3 separate regions of the Homo sapiens genome follow, and all the other regions are linked to region 1. The links are contacts of gene promoters, found by promoter capture Hi-C in human tissues and cell types (Jung and others, 2019). All regions are on one chromosome and are shown on one strand. Each heading gives the region's core, a stretch centred on a gene start or on the middle of the fragment in contact. The rest is flanking DNA. Distances are from core to core; before and after follow the strand shown. Region 1 holds the start of MRPL15 (mitochondrial ribosomal protein L15). Region 2 overlaps LOC124901947 (a long non-coding RNA gene). Region 3 has its middle 110 kb from the start of RP1.

The links. Contacts are between HindIII fragments. The study calls those that stand out against the background at their distance.
Region 2: a contact is called between a fragment that was not itself captured here and the fragment with the promoter of MRPL15 in region 1, in 1 of the 25 tissues and cell types used here (lymphoblastoid cells).
Region 3: a fragment that was not itself captured here is called in contact with the fragment with the promoter of MRPL15 in region 1 in 1 of the 25 tissues and cell types used here (dorsolateral prefrontal cortex).

Annotation. Positions count from the first base shown.
Region 1 is chr8:54,133,072-54,137,036 of GRCh38, reverse strand. It overlaps MRPL15 (mitochondrial ribosomal protein L15), which reads right to left and starts at 1,796. Exons shown (of 5, transcript NM_014175.4): 1 at 1,646-1,796; 2 at 372-526. The coding sequence starts at 1,753. The HindIII fragment of the contact is 21,249 bases long and covers 1-3,965 here.
Region 2 is chr8:53,524,716-53,528,680 of GRCh38, reverse strand. It overlaps LOC124901947 (a long non-coding RNA gene), which reads right to left. Exons shown (of 2, transcript XR_007060913.1): 2 at 2,018-3,049. Among named protein-coding and RNA genes, the nearest start is that of LINC02984, 2.7 kb to the right of the region's middle. The HindIII fragment of the contact is 3,762 bases long and covers 1-3,614 here.
Region 3 is chr8:54,726,293-54,730,257 of GRCh38, reverse strand. It overlaps a transcript of RP1 not described here. Among named protein-coding and RNA genes, the nearest start is that of RP1, 110 kb to the right of the region's middle. The HindIII fragment of the contact is 3,872 bases long and covers 257-3,965 here.

The sequences.
Region 1 (3,965 bases), core at 547-3,046:
TTTACACAAATAAATCTGTGGAAAATTTAACTTACTATGGAGCTCAAAGTAATAATGGTAGTTATCATTTATTAGGTGACTACAGTGGGCCAGATTTTTATGTATACTGTCTATTATTGCTCACTCTTTTAATAACCATTAGAGCTGGCATTAGAATCTCCATTTTGCAGGTCTAAGTGCAGTGTCTGGGCCTCTTTTCCTTTTAATAATCCAGGCAAGATTTCATTACCAAAAAATGGTTCAGGGGAACAGTAGCAAAAGTTTGCTTCAAAGTGAATTTACAATTTCCACCAAAATTTCTACCAAACTATTTTTAGGTGCTTTTTAATGGAAATTGGGGACCTGTACTTTAAAAAGCAAAGCAACCTTACCTATGTCCTTCGTTAAACCCGTATTTTGGGATTCGGATGTAAAATGGAGTCTGGCCTCCCTCAAAGCCCAAGCGGGGCCGGGTTCCTCTTTGCCTTTCTCCTTTATGGCCTCTGCCACATTTTCTACCTCTTCTCCGACCTCTTGGTCTTCTCTCCTGCAAGGAAAAAAAAGAATTTTATGAATTTCAGATGCATTTCTAAAAACTGCATTTCAGCTCTTCACTTTTTGTTATGCTGTTCATTCATCCAGCCCACCAGTGCTAGCTAACACTATTGTGTCAAGCATGTCCTAGTTGCTCAAAGCTCCACACACTCTGTTAGCATCTTTGCCTCTAAAGACATAGCTAATTCTTGTAACCAAAGTCCAAGTGTGTTTCAAAAGCAAAAAGTAAAGGTTAGGATGGGGATAAGGTTTTTATAATAGGTTGAAACCGAAAAAAATCCTAGAATTAAATATTCACAACATTTTAAATGATAGGCAAGAATTTATTCTGAAATTAATTGTAAATATGCAAATGTTATTCATAAACCTGTAATTTTATTTGAAAACTGATCTGTTGAAGAAAATCTTTTCCTTAATTTCCTGTCATTTCACGAAAGCAATGAACTGACTGTTAAAATGACAGTACATTGTCAACTAACAGCTTTTCTAGCTCTATTTAGTCAACTGCAGAAGGGACAGCTGCAATTCAGATCTTTCCAATGAACATAAAGATACACCGGGAAAACATTTCATTTTAAATCCAATTTTGAATGACACAAAGACTTTGTAGTTTCAGCGAGTCGGCTTCTCCGCCTGGTATCTTTACACTTGTAAACATAACCTTATTAAGAACTGGGTGCGGCCGGGGGCGGTGGCTCACGCCTGTAATCCCAGCACTTTGGGAGGCCGAGGCAGGCGGATCGCGAGCTCAGGAGTTCAAAACCAGCCTGGCCAACACGGTGAAACCACGTCTCTACTAAAAATACAAAAATTAGCCGGGCGTGATGGCGGGCGCCTGTAATCCCAGCTAATCGGGAGGCTGAGGCAGGAGAATTGCTTCTGGGCGACAGAGCAAGCCTCCGTCTCGGAAAAAAAAAAAAAAAAAAAAAAAAGAACTGGGTGCACGTGGAAAGATTCCCCTCTGGGCAGTAAGGGAGAACAGGCATGAGGCAATCCTATTTTCATCCCAACACTCTCCTAGAAAGGGCAGTTCTCCTAATGACAGGGAGAGAAGGGCCGCTTTCATCGCCCGGGTCCCCAGCGCTTCCCCGCACCGCCACCACCCATTTACCGGTTTCTTGGAGCCGGGATTCGGCTTTAAGTTGGCCAGGCTCACACGCGGCAGGCCCCGGAGTAGGTCCAGGGCCCGGGCCCCACCGCCCTGCAAGGGACCGGCCATAACCCGCAGATCCAAGAACTTTCAAGGGCGCCCTGAGCTGCTCGGAGGCCACGTGGTCTCGGGGGCTGCTTTGTGGCCGTGGCCCCGCCCCTGTCGCGCTGCAGCCGCGCGCGCAAGCCCGGGAGTCGGGCAGAGGCGTGGGAGTCTGCAACCTTGTCTCGGTTGTCCTTTTAGTTGTTTGGGGATGTGATCTTATTTTCCGAGATCCTGCTTTGTCCTCGGGGTCCCTTTTAATATTCTGAACGTAAAACCTTCTCTTTCGCCAAACGAGAGCATGCACTAAAAACACTGCGTTAAATAAAGGATCTTTTTTGAGTCAGTGTTGGGCCTTGCCTGTTTGTCTAGGCCGTGTCTTCTCTGAGGTCAATGCAGAACCCAGAGTAAAGCAAAGTGAGCTGTCAATTATTAGCTTTTGAGCTTGCGTAATTATACACCGTGAGGTACGAAAATAAAACTGAGTGCACCTATCAAAATGCCTGGCTAATAACCAATCTTTGAATAAGACTCAAAGTGTGAACTCTCATCCGTGTGCATCTGTATTGTTTTGAGTGAATCGCAGTTAGTAACCACCTATTGTTAATGACTGGCGCCATACTGAATGCCTGGTGTATGCCAGACGCTGTATTAAATAAGCCTTACTCGATTTACAGCCATTCTAGAGGTAAATGGTGTTACTACATTTTACAGTTACAACAGGGAAGGCTTAGCAAGGTCCGATAGCTTGACCAACTTCTTGCAACAAGCGGCAGAGCCAGGATTCAAACGTACACTGCTTCCTACTATAAAAGTAGTATTTTTAGAATGTAAAATTGAGTATCTGCATCACAAAATACGAACATTATTACTCGAAAAATACCAGCTCTTCTTTTTTCTCTCAAGTGACTTAAATATAGAAAAGACTGTTCCTTTCTTTTTCTTTCTTTTAGTAGTGGTTTGACATTTCACTTGCTGGGGAGTTTTTTCTGCTAGCTCTAACTAGTAATCACAAATAATGAAGGTGAGACAATTTTTGGAGGGCGTCTGTCTCTAGGTATAACTGCGTCTTTTTAAAGTTCCTTTAAATCAAGTGTAAAATAACTACATAAAGAAAAAGTTGTATTCATTCCTTCAAGTACTATTTATAAGTAAGACACTGAACTTGTTGGAAATACACATGGATGAACTCAAATAGGATTTCATTCCCAAGTTGTTTGAAATCTAGTAGGGAACAGTTTCCAAAAGTGAATTATTATTATTATTATTTTGAGACAGAGTCTCGCTCTGTTGCTTAGGCTAGAGTGCAATGGTTCAATCTCAGCTCACTGCAACCTCTGCCTCTCTGGTTCAAGCAATTCTTCCGCCTCCGCCTCCTGAGTAGCTGGGATTACAGGCGTTCACCAGCACGCCCCGCTAATTTTTTTTTGTATGTTTAGTAGAGACGGGTTTTCGCCATGTTGGCCAGGCTGGTCTCCAACTCCTGGCCTCAGGTGATCCCCCTGCCTCGGCCTCCCAAAGTGCTGGGATTACAGGCGTGAGCCACGGCGCCTGGCCCGTGAATGTTTTTTAAAAGTTAAAGATAAAAGTAGGCCTCTTGTAGACTAATTAGCAAAAACAAAATATGTGAGTTCGATAAAATGATATGATGGTAAAGTCTAGACTCTATTTAGAAGCACAGAAGAAATAGAATGGGGTGTGGGGGGCAATAGAACCTATTTTCTGCCTTTAATGATTTTTGGTTTGTTTGTTTGAAATGGAATCTCACTCTGTCGCCCAGGCTGGAGTGCAGTAGCGCCATCTCGGCTCACTGCAGGCTCCTCACCCAGGTTCAAGCGATTCTCCTGCCTCAGCCTCCCCAGTAGCTGAGATTACAGGCATGCACCACAACGTACAGCTTTTTTAGTTTGTTTGTTTGGTTGGTTTTTTAGTAGAGACTGGGTTTCACCACGTTGGCCAGGCTTGTCTGAAACTCCTAACCTCAAATGATCCACCTGCCTTGGCCTCCCAAAGTGCTGGGATTACAGGTGTGAGCCACTGAGTCCAGCCTGCCTTTAGTGATTTTTAATTCAGTAGTTTTCATTGTGTTTTTATTAAACTTTCCTACCTTTGGGAAGAAAATTGCAAAATATAATTGCAAACTGTACCCTAATCTACAGAAAAGTGCACAATTATTTTCAATCCCCAAAAAATCATTGTTTGCATTAAGTAATGAACTTCTTGATTAAGTGTTAATGCC
Region 2 (3,965 bases), core at 484-2,983, 610 kb after region 1:
ATGCCTGGATAATTGCAGCTCTTTATCCTATCAGTACTCAGAGCTCTAAGTAGCTGTATAACAGGGACTCTCATGAATTGGGCATCAGCCACAGAACACTATAGAGCAGGTTATTTTCTGGGTGGCTTGGGGCCGATGAAATAAATCCTGGGATAAATTATGACATGGAGATTTGAATGCTTGAACTATAGATTTTGTCCAGAAAAGGCTTCTTGCTAGCTACTGGGATTTTAAAAAATCAGTGTTTTCTGTTATGTGATTATTATCTTAGAAATATACAGTTGCTTCTTCTTATTAGTGGCAGTTGTATTCTATAATGTCGCTGTGAACTCTGAATTAGTAAATTCAGAAGCATTGCTCCCAGGAAAAATACAGGGTTAGGTCACTGCAAGCCACTAGTCAAAACATTTTTGTCCACTGATCAATACATGAGCTTGTTTTTTGTGTGTTTCTATTTAAAGACACCTTGCTTAATACATATCATTGATTCATTAACATTGAACTCATGGACAACAGCACTGTAACTCGTGTCTGAAGGAAGCTTATCTAATGCATGTATTTTTCCCCTTGAATAACATCACAGCCTTCTTGCACTTAGGAACCATAGACAGCACCATAGTTAGGGTGTTATTTTAAACAGCAGAATCATCAACAAAAAGCCCCCCAAAATGCAAAAAACATGGCACCAAATGGAATGTGGGGAGGATACTTGTTTGCAGTGTGAGAGCTGAAACAAGAAGGCAGAGGGTTTGACTTCAGCTGGGAGTGTGCATTGGGTTTCTCAAATTTTTTGCCTCTCTATCCATGTCTGCAAGGACTGTACAAACACTGTGAATATTGACTTTGGAGTGACAAATACATTTTAGTAAGCAGATGAATTCACAAACCTTGAATCAGCGAATAGCAAAGATGGAGTGTATTTTCTAATTTCTTAAGATGTGAGTCTGAGTTTGGTAAATGTTAGTAAAGATAGGTAGTCCAAAGTCACCCAAATCGCATTAGAGCTCTGTTGCTGCTATCACAAGACCTTGATTGCGGTTTAGATTTTTTAAAAGTTTTGAAGCATTTTCAGCTCATGGTGAATATATGTATTGATTCATTATTGAACAAATATTTGTAAGAATACATGTTTTCTACTATTCTGGAGGCTTTATAAAAACATAAAACTTTTATAATAACATATAGTCTCTTTGTGATTTACAGATTTTTAACTACTTTCATGAGCACATCTCCTTTAATTCCCCTCACCCCTTGAAAGGTGCTTGGGAACCCAGCATTAGTGGAAAGTCTGAGAATGGGGACAGCTCTCTAGATTCTGGGGGTAAAATGTAAGGGGGGTCCTGGCCTAGAGAAACTTGTCTTGCTAGGAGCTAGAGTATATTATGAGGCCAGCACCAGAAGCCAAGTTTTATTTTAATGACCACATCACGTGGGCCCCTTAACCAGTCACCAGTGGTGTGATCCTAGAGCCTTCATGTGGGCCAGTCGGCCCAGGCACCAACAGCCCCCTAGAGAGGTGGGCAGGTGCCTGCAGGAGACTGTGAAGTACTCTGAAGGCAAATGATAAACTAAGCAAGGTGTGGTGAGGGAGACCAGCTGTTGGTCAATAAATGACACCTTGCCCAGTGTTAAGAGCACAGTTTCTGGAGCCAGATATCCTGAGTTCCAAATCAGCTCTGTTTCTTAATAGCTGTGTGACTTTCAGGGATGATATGTTTAGCCTCTCTGTGCATCAATTCATTTATCTGTGAAAGTGGGACAATAATATACTAACATCATAAGGCCATTGTAATAATGAAATAAATTACAACTATGAAGTACTATATAAGCTCAGATTGTGACAGGTACACCCCAGAAATATTGTGGGTTCCATTCCAGACCACTGCAGTAAAGCAAATATTGCAATAAAATGAGTCACATACATTTTTTCCCTAATTCATATAAAAGTTATGCTTACACTGCACTGTAATCTATTGAGTGTGCAGTTGTGTTATGTGTAAAAAATAATGTACATATCTTAATTCAAAATATTTTATTGCTAAAAATGCTAACAATGATCTGAGCCTTCAGCAAACCATCATCTTTTTGCTGGTGAAGGGTCTTGCTTTGATGTTGATGGCTGCTGAATGATCAGGGTGGTGGTTGCTGAAGATTGTGGTGGCTGTGGCAGTTTGTTAAGACAACAATGGAGTTTGCCAGAGCAATTGACTCTTCCTTTTATGAAAGAAAGGAAGCAATTGACTCTTCCTTTTATTTCTCTGTAGCATGCAATGCTGTTTTATAGCATTTTACCTGCAATAGAACTTCTTTCAAAATTGGAGCCAACACTCTCAAACTCTGCTGCTGCTTTATGAACTAAGTTTATGCAGTACTCTAAATCCTTTATTGTTATTACAACAATGTAAATAGCACCTTCACCAAGAGTAGATTCTATCTTAAGAAACCACTTTCTTTGCTCCTCCTTCATAAGAAGCAGTTCCTCATCTGTTCAAGTTTTATCATGAGATTGCAGAAATTCAGTCCCACCTTGATTGTAGAAATTCAGTCCCACCTTCAGGCTCCACTTCTAGTTCTCTTGCTATTTCTATCGCATCTGCTGTTGCTTCCTCCACTGAAACCTTGAACCCGTCAAAATCACCTATGAAGGTTAAAATTAACTTCTTCCAAACTACAGTTAATGTTGATATTTTGATGTCATGAATCATGAATGTTCTAGAGTGGCATCTAGAAGAATGAATACTTTCCAGAATGTTTTCAATTTCCTTTTCTAGTCCATCAGAGGAATCACCATCTATGGCAGTTATAGTGTTAGGGAATGTATTTCTTAAATTACAAGACTTGAAAGTTGGAATTAGTCCTTGAACCATGGGCTTCAGAAGCGATGTTGTGTTTGCAGGTCTGAAAATATCCTTGTACCTCTCTGTCAGGACTCTTGAGTGACCAAGTGCATTGTCAATGAGCAGTAATATTTTGAAGGGACTCTTGTTTTTTTTTTTTAAGTCATAGTGAGGAAGGAGACCACCAGTTCTCCTGCTGCTCTCCGCCTTGCCTAGTTTATAAAACAAGAGAAAAAGGAGAAAGCAAAAAGTTAAAAAGAAAAAAAGTAAGATAAATAGCCAGATGACCTTGGGGCCACCACCCTGCCCTGATGGTTAAATAATAATAATAATAATAAAAATAATAATAATATCAACCCCTGACCTCAACTATTTGTGTTATCTGTAAATTCCAGACATTGTATGAGGAAGCATTGTAAAACTTTCTGTTCTGTTAGCTGATGCATGTAGCCCCCAGTCACATTCCCCATGCTTGTGACCCTTTCACGTAGACCCCTTAAAGTTGTGAGCCCTTAAAAAGGCCAAGAATTTTTTTTTGGGGAGCTCAGCTCTTAAGATGCAAGTCTGCTGAAGCTCCCGGCCGAATAAAGCCGCTTCCTTCTTTAACCCGGTGTCTGAGGAGTTTTGTCTGTAGCACGTCCTGCTACATTTCTTGGTTCCCTGACCAGGAAGCAAGGTGAGGCAGCCCCTTAGGCAGCTTTTGCCTGCCCTGTGGAGCATCCCTTTGGGTGACCCTAGCTGGCTTGAGTGACACAGATCCTGAGAACACTCCCAGGTAGGCATTTGCCCTGGTGGAATGTCTCATCAGAGCAGTGTGCCGCAGGCCCCCGTGGAGGATCAACACAGTGGCTGAACACTGGGAAGGAACTGATGCTTGGAGTTGGACATCTGGAATATGGTAAGACTGGTCTTAGGAACTTGCCTACTCCATTTGAGTGGAAGCGTGGCCTGATCACCCACAGTGTGCCTTTATTTGCACTTTGGTTTTGGTTTTGATTTTGACTTGGCTTGAATTGCTTGATGAACAGGTATGCATTTATCGGCACTTTGGTTTTGGTTTTGATTCTGATTTGGTGTGAATTTCTTGATGAGTGAGTGACCTTTTACCCTTTGCCCTTTTTCCCTTCT
Region 3 (3,965 bases), core at 943-3,442, 590 kb before region 1:
ATACTAAGAAAAAACAACAATGGTTGTTTTATAGAAGAAGATATTGACTTTTTTATAGGCCAAAAGAATTTATGGGTAGTTTTTCTGCTCAACATAGGGAGGTACTTTCAAGTGATTAGGATTATCTGAAATGGAATGGCTTATTTCTGCACTCTTCCTGTGAACCTCTATGTTGCTTATGATGTGTCAGAGGTCCCTTCAAATCCTCAATCTATGATGAACGAAAACTTACACTACCTTTACAATATATAATTTACAACAGCACAAGCATTAAAAAAAATAAAACTATAGTTCACTCTGGATGCCAAGTGCTATTTTTTATATTAAAAAGGACACAAAAATTACAACAAGAATAACCATTAATATAATTCATTATCTTGTAATTCCATTTATGGGAATTATTCTAATGAAATAATATATAGATGAGCATCCATTACAAATTATAATAAGAAAATAGGTAAATATGTTATGCTACGTCAACAAAATGGATTATTTGTAGTTATTAAATTTTATTTAAAATATTTATTATGAAAAATTCTTTAATGATTAGTACCTTCTATTAACTGAGAAGGTTACAAAATGATATATTTAATATAATCTACAAGTGTATATACATACATATATGCACAAGCATAAATAGATTTTAAAGTGCTCTTTGGGGGAGTAGTAAGTTGATATAATTTTAAGATTTTCCTGTATGCTTGATGTGTTCTACTTTTTTTCGGAATGAAATTATTTTTAGTCAAACATGACTACCCAAGATTTTTCAGAATTTACTGACTGCTGTTTTTAAGGAAGACTTCAACTTAATAATAGATTTTTTTTCTGCCCAGGTTTATTTGTTTTTAAAGTATTGGCACCTAAACATATTTAGGAAAGAAAATGCCATGGCTGAGACTTTGGCACAGATTAGGATTTGCCTGGCAACACTGTAGAACATGCCACCACAAACAGATGATGGACTGGCAGGATGGCTGCACTGCACTGTTCAAGTGCCCATGCACAGAGACAAGCGACTGGAGCTGAGACCTGCATAACATTCATCTTCCTGGGTCTTGATTTTCTCATTTATAGAAATAGGTAGTTGCCGGAAAGATATCTAAGGGCAATTTCAGTTCAGAGCATCAAATCATAAGTCTTCTCTTTTTATATTCGGTTTGAATGTGTTTAAATGCAGTGTTTCCAAACTTAAAATTATGCAGAAGTAATGTATATTCTCACTTAAATAATTTTTAAAATATGGCATTTCTGAAGTATTTATGAATAATATGGTGTCTTATATTTGCTTTAAAATAATTAAATGAGGACATTGTAGGGCATAGCAGGAAGGACCATAACTAAGACAGAACTACGTCTATGTTGATCATTGTTGAAGCTGAGTGATGGGTACATGGGGGTTCATTTGTCCATTATCTCTACCTTTGTGTGTGTTTAAAATTTTCCATAATAAAAAGATTATTCTAAAAAAATAAGATTCCTTCCTCAACCCCACCACCCTAACAAAATTAATATCATAATGCAGTTTAGACCTAAATGACAGCCTTGCAAATTTAATGACACTATATCTCTACTTAACTACTACAAAATAACTATTTATCATATATGTGCTATTTTAAGTTCTAAATCCTCTTGCCCTTTTGATGTAGATGAGAAAAGTTCCATCTTTCTTCTTAATAAATAAGCATTTTGAATGAAGACAGAACAGTTTTATTTTGTCTATAATTTCTCATTCCCAAAACTATACATCTTGCCCTATCCCAAAAGTGGGTGGACAAACATAGTCTCATTCTTAAGGAACTGATATTTGGTTTTAGATATCTTTAAAAGTAGAAAATAAGTTTTCTAAAGTGTTTTTCAACTAACATATTTTAATATGAATGGCTAATGCAACCCAAATCTGTCTTGACAGCTAAGGTGCAAAACCAAGAGGAAGGTATTTCTTGCAAGAAGCAACTTTTTAACTATTGCAGTCCTTTGATAGAGGTAGAAAAAAGACAACTAAAGGGAATCATGATCTAATTACTCAGTAACAGATGAGAGAGAGACTTCTAGGGAAATATTCATACATAAAGACATTTTTTCCTCACTTAAAATCATGGGTGCTTATAAAACCACTCCCACTGCAATCAGAGAAGGCAAAATTTAACCATATCATGGGCATTTTATAAGTGGCATTTGCCTTAGAGGAGCTTCATCATCTGGACTTCCCAGATTTCATATCCAGGGCCAAAATCTGTGACAGGTCAAAGTTTTAAAAAGTTCATGAAGAAACTGAGCTCAGTCTCCATTTTCTCAGTCTTTGGCCCACTCTCCATTTCTGCTGTATTGCCATTAACCACAATGAAGAACTTATAAGTCTTTTTACAATTAATTATTGACTTAAATTTTATTTTGTGTCTCGTATGCTCTGGATATTTCCTTCATCTCAATTATCAGGTTTTAGCCTTCCATTTTTGTGTGATTGTTTAATGTTTATCTGAACAGCTCACCTATCAAATTCAAGAGGGTAGAGACCAAGTCTGTTTTACCTATAACATCTGACATTTAATGGGCACACAATTCATATTTAATGTTGAATTAAATGAAATAATTATTTGAAAAGGTCTATGTTTATCATGAAGCCTAATTTTGTCATTTTTACAAATTACTTGGCCAGCCTCAGTAAAAAAAATCCTTAAAAATTTCATAATGGTAACATTTAAAAAATATTTTTGCCAGAACAAATTTTCATAAGACATATAGAAGGTTTTCTCATAAGCATTTTGCCACTCATTAAAAAAGTATCTATCCCCCAGGGATTTCGGCTAGCATGCTATTTTCAACCAATTCAAATTTTACTTGAGGTGGCCATCCCTGATTTAGATACCATTACTTCCTGACACAAGACTGAATTCTGCTGTGAGAAATTTTAACTAAGCACATATTTCTCATTCAGTGTGATTCTTCACACTGCTCCATGGATTCAAGACATGACATGGAAATAAAAAACTGAGACTAGTCCTTTGCAGCAAAAATCAAAAGGCTAATTTCTCTTCCCTATGTTCATGAGCTAATAGCTTAGGATGGTCAACAAGAGACGTCTATTATATTACTATCTAAAAGAAAAGCTAGCATACCCAATAACTAATTTTTAAAAATCACTTTTTTAAAGGTAACATTATAATTTATCTGTCTCCCAAGACGGGTTTTAAAAAAATGGTCCCCCAGAGATGGTCCCCTATTTCATCTTATCCAAAGATGACTAGATTCTGATACACGGAATTTGTCAGATATCATATATTATACTTTCCCGTCAGATAAAAGTTAATACATTTAAGAGCAACAAAAATTATCAAATGGACCAATATAGAAACTAGGAATTTAAGCCTCTGGGACCGAGAGCACTTTTTTTTAAGCTTCAGTTTCTATACCAGAGAAATAGAAATTATTTTTTTCATTGCTTAGACTTTAGTGAGAATTTACTGTTTTTCATAAAATATATTCATAAAATATTTTGTAGGTGATAGTCCAATTGATGTTATAATTTAATACTATCTTCTTTTCAACTCATTGTTCTGGGTGAACATTAAATTTAAGACAAAGAAACACATTTAAAAATATATGTATTCTTTATAATATAAAACTTAAGGCATAAAAAAGCAAGATAACAGCTTACAAGCAGTCCATGTGGTATAACATAATATATGCTGTAAAAATAATTTAATAGTCTTCCTGCAATGGCCACAGGAAGAAATAATGCAGCAAACAAACCAAAAGTATGAAAGCAAAAGCTGTGGCTTACTTGCAGTTGAAGAAGGTAAGGGACTCCTAGCCTCAGATTCTGGGGGTATTTTTTTCTGTTTTTTTGACTCATGGATCTTTTCTTCTTCTTGGCTGGGTGTTGCAGACATTCCCATTGGGTTTTCTCTGCCAACTGAAATTAAGATTTTAAAAGATGCCATCCTTTCAAAATCACTTGTTTCTTC